Regions from separate parts of the Homo sapiens genome. Here region 1 is linked to region 2. The links are contacts of gene promoters, found by promoter capture Hi-C in human tissues and cell types (Jung and others, 2019). All regions are on one chromosome and are shown on one strand. The core of a region is centred on a gene start or on the middle of the fragment in contact, and the rest is flanking DNA. Distances in the headings are between cores, read along the strand shown. Region 1 holds the start of SEZ6L2 (seizure related 6 homolog like 2). Region 2 has its middle 35 kb from the start of LAT.

Evidence for each region. Contacts are between HindIII fragments. The study calls those that stand out against the background at their distance.
Region 1: a contact is called between the fragment with the promoter of SEZ6L2 here and a fragment that was not itself captured in region 2, in 1 of the 25 tissues and cell types used here (lymphoblastoid cells).

Annotation. Positions count from the first base shown.
Region 1 is chr16:29,898,276-29,901,916 of GRCh38, reverse strand. It overlaps SEZ6L2 (seizure related 6 homolog like 2), which reads left to right and starts at 2,367. Exons shown (of 18, transcript NM_001243332.2): 1 at 2,367-2,976. The coding sequence starts at 2,898. ASPHD1 (aspartate beta-hydroxylase domain containing 1) reads right to left here and starts at 1,429. Exons shown (of 3, transcript NM_181718.4): 1 at 1-1,429. The coding sequence starts at 945. RefSeq lists enhancers at 1-408, 2,175-2,469 and a silencer at 1,382-1,811. The HindIII fragment of the contact is 10,220 bases long and covers 1-3,641 here.
Region 2 is chr16:29,017,621-29,021,648 of GRCh38, reverse strand. No RefSeq gene overlaps it. Among named protein-coding and RNA genes, the nearest start is that of LAT, 35 kb to the right of the region's middle. The HindIII fragment of the contact is 6,519 bases long and covers 1-4,028 here.

The sequences.
Region 1 (3,641 bases), core at 1,118-3,617, 880 kb before region 2:
ATGGCATCTGACCCGGGCATTGGTGGGCCCACAGCGGCCCTCGAGCCGGGCCCCAGGCAGGAGAACGGAAAAGCCGGCATTGCCGAAGGTGTTGGCACTCATAAAGCTTCGAAGCCCCCTCAGTGCCCGATAGGCCCCCGGGCACCGGCGGCAGTTGCTGGGTTGGCACCGGCCTGCTTGGTACAGCAGGAGCTGGTAGCACCCGGGGGCCAGAGGTGGGGACCAGCCCCGAGGCGGAGGGGTAGTCCCTGAGAAGTCCCAGCTCACAGCCCCGAAGTCCCGCAAAATGGCAGGGAAGCTGCTCTCCAGGAGCTCCACGTCGTGCCGCTGGGCGTCCCGCGGCACAAAGGGGGCTGAAGGCAGGTCTGGTAGGAAAAGCAGGCCTGGGCGCTGAATACCTAGGACCCCTGGCCCTCTCCCAGGGCCTGGGCCACCCTGAGCTGCCCGCCTCACTCTACCCATCCCAGCCCAGGAGTAGCGCCTTGCGTAGGCCCGAAGCCGCCGGCTCACTAGGCCTTCCGTCCTAGGTCCTTCCCCGGGATCCCCAGGACCCCCTGGGCTTGGCCCGCCGGCCTCCGAGCATCCCACAGGCCCACCACGAACACCCCCAGCTCGGCTCCCAGCCCCTAGGGCCTGCATGTCTTGGGAGCCCAGGCGGTAGCAGTACCAGAGGAACAGGGAAGTGAGGGCCCCGAAGAGCAAGGTGAGGGCCGAGGAGGCCAGGGGTAGTGGCCACGGGAGCATGATCAGGGAGGCCCTGGCCAAGAGGCCTGGGGCGTCCTCCGGACCCCAGTTCCCCTGTCCCCCCAGCTCCCCACCTGTCCCTTCCATGGCTGCCCCCTGGCTCCCCGCTGGACTGTTTCCCTTCCACATTCCACTCTGGGCTGTCTCTCTCTCCTTCCGCGGTCCTCTCTCCACGCTGAAGCTCCCTCTCCCCTCCTTCATGCACCTCCAACCCTCCTCTCTCCTTTCTCTCCCCTTTCTCTCTCCTTCTACCTCTTCTTCCTCCTCTCCCTCTGTCGCCTCCTCACCCTCTTCTTTCTCCTTCCAGCAGCCTCCTCTCTCTCGCTCTGCTTCTCTCTCCCACCTCAATCTCCCCCTTTCCTCCCCACCCCCGCTTTTCGCTCGCTCTCTCTCCCCGCTTCCTCCTAGCTCCCCTGGGCAGCGGTTCCTACCCTGCCTGGACCTGCAGTCCCGGGAACCCGCAGCCTGTCTTCCTCCGCGGCAGCTTCTTTCTCTCCGGCCTCACTGCTCTCTCCTTGCCCTCGCTCCTCACTAGCCCCGACCCTGCGGTCCTGCCTGGCTCTCGCTCCCTCTCTCCTACTCGCTCCTTCCTGGGCTCCCACTCACCCTGACGTCACTCCTTCCCGGAGCCCTCTCAGCTCAGCCACCCCCGAACCCTCCCAGTGGCACAGCAAATCAGCCGGGTGCCGGGGGAGGGGGGAGAGTTGTCGCTGGAGGTGCCTCCCCACCCCCCCCGCCCGGAAAGGGCGCCACGTGGGGCGCAGGGGCCACGGTGCCAGCCTCCAGCCGTCCCGCAATGCGAAAGAAGGGGCGGGTCGTATCGGGCGGGGCCTGAGGGGCGGGGCCTGAGGGGCGGGGCGAGCGCGGACTGACGGCTGGGCAGGCGCCCGGGACTGCGGGCAAGGATGCTGAGGCCAGTCCGTCGGGCGGCTGGTCCGTCGGTCGGTCGGCCTGTGACTCCCGCTGGCCCTAGGCAGCCCGGGAGCCCGCGAGCCTGGCAAACACCGAAAGCGGCCTCAGCCAATCGCGGGCGGCGTCGGGCCGGGCCCGCCCCGGCGGGGCGAGGGGAGCTGTCCGCGCGCCGCTGGTGCTGAAAAGGGCGCTCCGGAGGGAAAATCAGAGCCGAGGCCGCCTGTTAGCTGGCCGGGGTCAGGGTTTATGGAAGAGGAGGGGTCTGTCTCTCCTCCCCAAACCCCGGCCCGTCACCCACGAGACTTGTCACAATCGTGGAAGCTCTCTATTCCCCTGGAGGAGGGAGAGCCCATTCCACCCGAGCTACTGTAAAAGGGGAAGGGAAGCCCCTTGGGAGGTCTGAATGTGAACAGGGGGCATAATTGGGGGCCTAGCAGGCGCGAACCAAGCTATGCAGCCCCTCGGCACCCTGGGAAGAGGAGATTCAGATTCCAGATGTGCTGGAATGGCAGGCGGAGGGGGCTAATTACTGCTGGGACCAGAGAGTTTCCTTTGCCTCCCCTAGGGGCCGCGGGAGTGAGGATTACGGCCCTGGCTCGTATGATCCCTCCCTCCTCCATCTGCACTTCCTCCTCCTCCCTCCCCGTCAAATAAATCCCAGGCCCCTCCCTCCGCCCGTCCCCAGGATCTGACGTGGGCTCGATACCTTTCTCAGCTTCTCCCTCCCGCAGCTCCAGTGCCCGAGCTTCGGCTCTCCCAGTTCCCCAACCCACCCCTTCCCCTCCCCGACAAGCCCCGCTAGAGCCCAGTGGAGACCCCCTCGATCCTCGACCCCACCCTAAACCCCCAGAAGCTGTCTTTCTCCTCCCCAGTCCCCTAGCTTGGGGTCCAGACAGCCCAGTGGACCCAGGCGCCTGAGCAGGAGGGTAACCCAGGCCACCCGGCCCCTTCGGCCCTCTCGGCCCCACCCCCTGCAGCCGGAGCCGCGCCCCCTCCACCACAGAGCCGCGAGAAGAGGACAGAGGAGACTGAGCAAAGGGGGGTGGGCTCCAGGCGACCCCTAGCCCAATTCTGCCCCTCCATCCCAAGGGGCAGAGAAATTGTCTTTCTTTGCTGACTCCTACGAGGAAAAAAAAAAAAAAAAAAAAAACAATTAAAGGGAAAGATAAACGGAGACGGAGGAAAGGTGGCAGCCAGATTACTTAGAGAGGCACAGAGGAGAGAGATCGGGGTGAGTCGCCATGGGGACTCCCAGGGCCCAGCACCCGCCGCCTCCCCAGCTGCTGTTCCTAATTCTGCTGAGCTGTCCCTGGATCCAGGGTAAGGACATGAGACTGTGGGGGTGGGCCCCAGGAAGGCGTCCAGCGGGGTCCTCCACCCTCCTTTCTCTTAATATCCTGGGTCTTCCGAGCACATGGGGGAGGGGAGAGGCACAGCTGATGGGGAAGGGGCAAGCCAGAGCTTTCAGGCTTGAACCCGAAGCCCCTTAACCCTCAATATTGAGAAGGCAGAGAAATGAATGAGAGAAGCTTTTAGCAGTGTCTCAGGGGCTAGATCCAAGAAGGAGGGCTGGGAAAGTTGGGGGGATGTCTGCGGAGGCGGCAGAAGCATGGAGGGACCTGGGTGGGAGATGGAGGTGCTGAGAGAGATGCCAGGCGCTGTACACACAACTGTTCTTGGATGAATGGACAAAGACAGATGAGCAGAGGCAGGGCTCAAAGACCAGATTTTCAGTCCCCCACTCTGACCCCCAGCCAGACTCCAGGGAAGGAGGCAGAGACTGCAGAGGACCAGAGAGAGAGAGGGTGGGGGGGAGAGAGAGAGAGAGAGAGAGAGAAAAGACAGCCACACTGCAGAGACAGAAACCCAGAGAGAAAGCCAGGCACTGCGGAAGCAAGGGCTGGGAGGTGCGGCCAGATCCTCTGCAGAGCCCCAGGGTTGGGGGGAGATCACCACTGAGGTGAAAGGGAAGGCAGCACCGGCGA
Region 2 (4,028 bases), core at 873-3,372:
TTTTTGAAGATCCATCAAGCTGCACGCTTCTGATTTCACACTGTGTGGAGCATGTTATACTTCAGAAACATGTTTTTTAAAAAGATCAGTGACAAACGGGAAAAATATAGCTGCTTCTCATGAAATAAATAAGAAAAAGACTACTCAAAAAAATGTCAATGGACGTGTACAGATAGATCACAGAAGAGTAAATAGAAACAATGCAAACATATGAAAAGATGCTCCGCTATTTTTCATAATAAAAGAAATGCAAATTAAGACTATAATAAGACTCTAACCTTGGCTGGGTGTGGTGGCTCACGCCTGTAATACCAGCACTTTGGGAGGCCGAGGCAGGCAGATCACCTGACGTCAGGAGTTCAAGACCAGCCTGGCCAACAGGACAAAACCCCATCTCTACTAAAAATACAAAAATTAGCTGGGTGTGGAGGCACACACCTGTAATCCCAGCTACTTGGGAGGCTGAGGCAGGAGAATTGCTTGAACCCAGGAGATGGAGGTTGCAGCGAGCCGAGATCGTGCCACTGCACTCCAGCCTGGGCGACAGAGCAAGACTCTGTTTAAATAAAAAAAGACTCATCTTTACCTAACAGTTTGGCAAAAGATTAAGGAGTTTGATAGCACTCTGAGCTGGCAAGGGTGTGGGGAAACAGCTACTGTGGGCCACCTCTTGTGGGAGTGTCAACTAATCCCTTCCCCCGAAGGGGAATTTGGCAGTATCTAGCAAAATCACACATGCATATTCACTTTGACCAAACGACTCTTCTTCAAGGGATTCATTATACAGAAGTCCTCCCACGCGGGCTAAATGACTTACACATAAGATTATTCATTGCAGCTTCTGGGGGGTAAACTATTAAAACAATCTAAATGTCCATCATGAGGTAGCTATTTAAAGTCCATCCACACAACAGCATAACCATGCAGCTATTAAAAAAGAATGCACTGGGCCGGGCACGGTGGTCCTGCCTGTAATCCCAGCACTTTGGGAGGCCAAGGCGGGCGGATCACGAGGTCAGGAGTTCGAGACCAACCTGTCCAATATGGTGAAGTCCCGTCTCTACTAAAAAATACAAAAATTAGCTGGGCATGGTGGCACGTGCCTGTCATCCGAGCTACTTGGGAGGCTGAGGCAAGAAAATCTCTTGAACCTGAGAGGTGGAGATTGCAGTGAGCCAAGATCACTGCCACTGCACTCCAGCCTGGGCAACAGAGTGAGACTCCATCTCAAACAATAGAAAAAGAATGCACTGGCCGGGTGTGATGTCTAACACCTGTAATCCCAGCACTTTGGAAGGCTGAGGCAGGAGGATGGCTTGAGCTCAGAGGTTCGAGACCAGCCTGAGAAACATGGTGAGACTCCTGCCTCTACAAAAGATACAAAAATTAGCCGGGCATGGTGGCAGGCGCCTGTAATCCCAGCTACTCAAGAAGCTAAGGTGGGAGGATCACCTGAGCCCGCAGTGGAGGTTGTAGTGGGCCAAGATCGTGCCACTGCACTCCAGCCTGGGCAACAGAGTGAAACGGAGTTCGAGACCAGCCTGGCCAACATAGCAAAACCCCATCTCTACTAAAAATACAAAAATTAGCCGGGTGTGGTGGCAGGCACCTGTAATCCCAGTTACTCAGAAGGCTGAGGCAGGAGAATGGTTTGAACCCGGGAGGCAGAGGTTGCAGTGAGCCAAGATTGTGCCAATGCACTCCAGCCTGGGTGACAGAGCAAGACTCTGTCTCAAAAACAAACAAACAAACAAACAAAAAAAAAACAATGCACAAGGTTGTAAGTTTTAGGGTAATGATGTCAAACCTCCAAGATACGGCATTACACGAAAAAGCAAAATACAAACAGTGCGTGGAATTATACCATTTATATAAAAACGAAGTGGCTGCAAATTTGCTTAAACGTGCATTTGCTTATAGAAGTGTGGAAAATCTTTGGGTAACTGATAAGAATGACTGTGACTTTGGACAGGAATTTGGTGGTTAGGGAACAGGTGGGAGAGAGATTTTTCTGTTAAAATCTTTAGTACCTTTGGAATTTTGAACCACAGGAATATACTGCCTTTTCCTTTTCTTTTTTTTTAGGCTGGTCTCAAACTCCTGGGCTGAAGGTATCCTTCTGCCTTAGCCTACCGAGTAGCTGGGATTACAGAGTACTGCCTATTAAAATATATATATCTATATATATGTGTGTGTGTGTGTGTGTGTGTGTGTGTGTGTGTGTGTGTGTGTAGCTGGGCACAGTGGCTCATGCCTGTAATCCCAGCACTTTGAGAAGTGGAGCCGGGTGGATAACTTGAGGCCAGGAGTTTGAGACCAGCCTGGGTAACATAGCTAGATCTCATCTCTATAAAAAAAAAATTTAAAAATCACCTTGTATCTCATAAATGTAAACAACTATGATTTGTCAATCAAAATAATATTAATTAAAAAATTTTTTAATTCTAACTGATATCACACCAAATTAAAAAAAAAAATTAAAAAGGCCGGGCACATTGGCTCACACCTGTAATCCCAGCACTTTGGGAAGCTGAGGAGGGTGGATCATCTGAGGTCAGGAGTTCTAGAACAGCCTGGCCAACATGGTAAAACTCTGTCTCTACGAAAACTACAAAAGTTAGCCGGGCGTGGTGGCAGGTGCCTTTAATCCCAGATACTCAGGGGGCTGAGGCAGGAGAATCACTTGAACCTGGGAGGCAGAGGTTGCAGCGAGCCGAGATCATGCCATCACACTCCAGCCTGGGGGACAAGAGAGGGACTTTGTGTCAAAAAATAAAAATAAAATAAAATAAATAAATAAATAAATAAATCGTAGGCCAGGTGAGGTGGCTCATGCCTATAACCCCAGCACTTAGGGAGGCCAAGGCTTGTGGATCACTTGAGGTCAGGAGTTTGAGACTAGCCTGGCTAACGTGGTGAAACCCCGTCACTACTAAAAATACAAAAATTAGCCAGGCGTGGTGGCGAGCACCTGTAGTCCCAGGTACTCAGGAGGCTGAGGCAGGAGAATTGCCTGGACCCACCACTGCACTCTAGCCTGGGTGACAGGGTGAGACCCTGTCTCAAAAAATAAAAATTAAGTTTAAAAAATCTTAAGAAGTAAGAAGACTACTTCCTGATTTCAATATGTGTTACAAAGCTACAGTAATCAAAACAATGTGGTACTTGGCATAAAGACAGAGATATAGACTAATGGAATAGAGAGCCCGGAAATACATCCTTACATTTATTATTATTATTATTATTATTATTATTATTATTATTATTATTATTTTTGTTACAAGATCTCACTCTGTTGCCCAGGCTGGCACACAGTGGTATGATTGTAGCTCACTGAAACTTCAAACTCCTGTGATCAAGCTATCCTCCCACCTCAGTCTCCCAAGTACCTGAGACTAGATGTGGGTGTCACCATGTCTGGCTATTTTTTTTTTTTTTTTTGGCAGAGACCTAGTTTCACTACATTGCCCAGGCTGGTCTCAAACTCCTGGCCTCAAAGGATCCTCTCACCTCTGCCTCCCAAAGTGCTGGGATTACAGGCGTGAGGCACCATGCCTGGCCCACCCTCACATTAATGGTTAAATAATCTTTGGCAAGGGTGCCAAGACCATTCAGTGGCAGAAAAAGCAGTATCTTCAACAAATGGTGTTGGGAAAACTGGCTATTCACATACAAATAATGCAGTTAGACCCTTATCATACACCGTACACACACACAAAAAAATTTTTTTGAGACGGAATTTTGCTCTTGTCGCCCAGGCTGGAGTGCGATGGCGCGACCTCGGCTCACCACAACCTCCACCTCCAGGGCTCCAGGATGCTCCTGCCTCAGCCTCCTGAGCAGCTGGGATTACAGGAGCGCACCACCAAGCCTGGCTAATTTTGTATTTTTAGTAGAGACGGGGTTTCTCCATGTTGGTCAGGCCGGTCTCGAACTCCCGACCTCGGTGATCTGCCCGCCTTGGCCTCCCAAAGTACTGAGATTACAGGCATGAGCCACCATGCCTGGCCATATACAAAAATTAATTC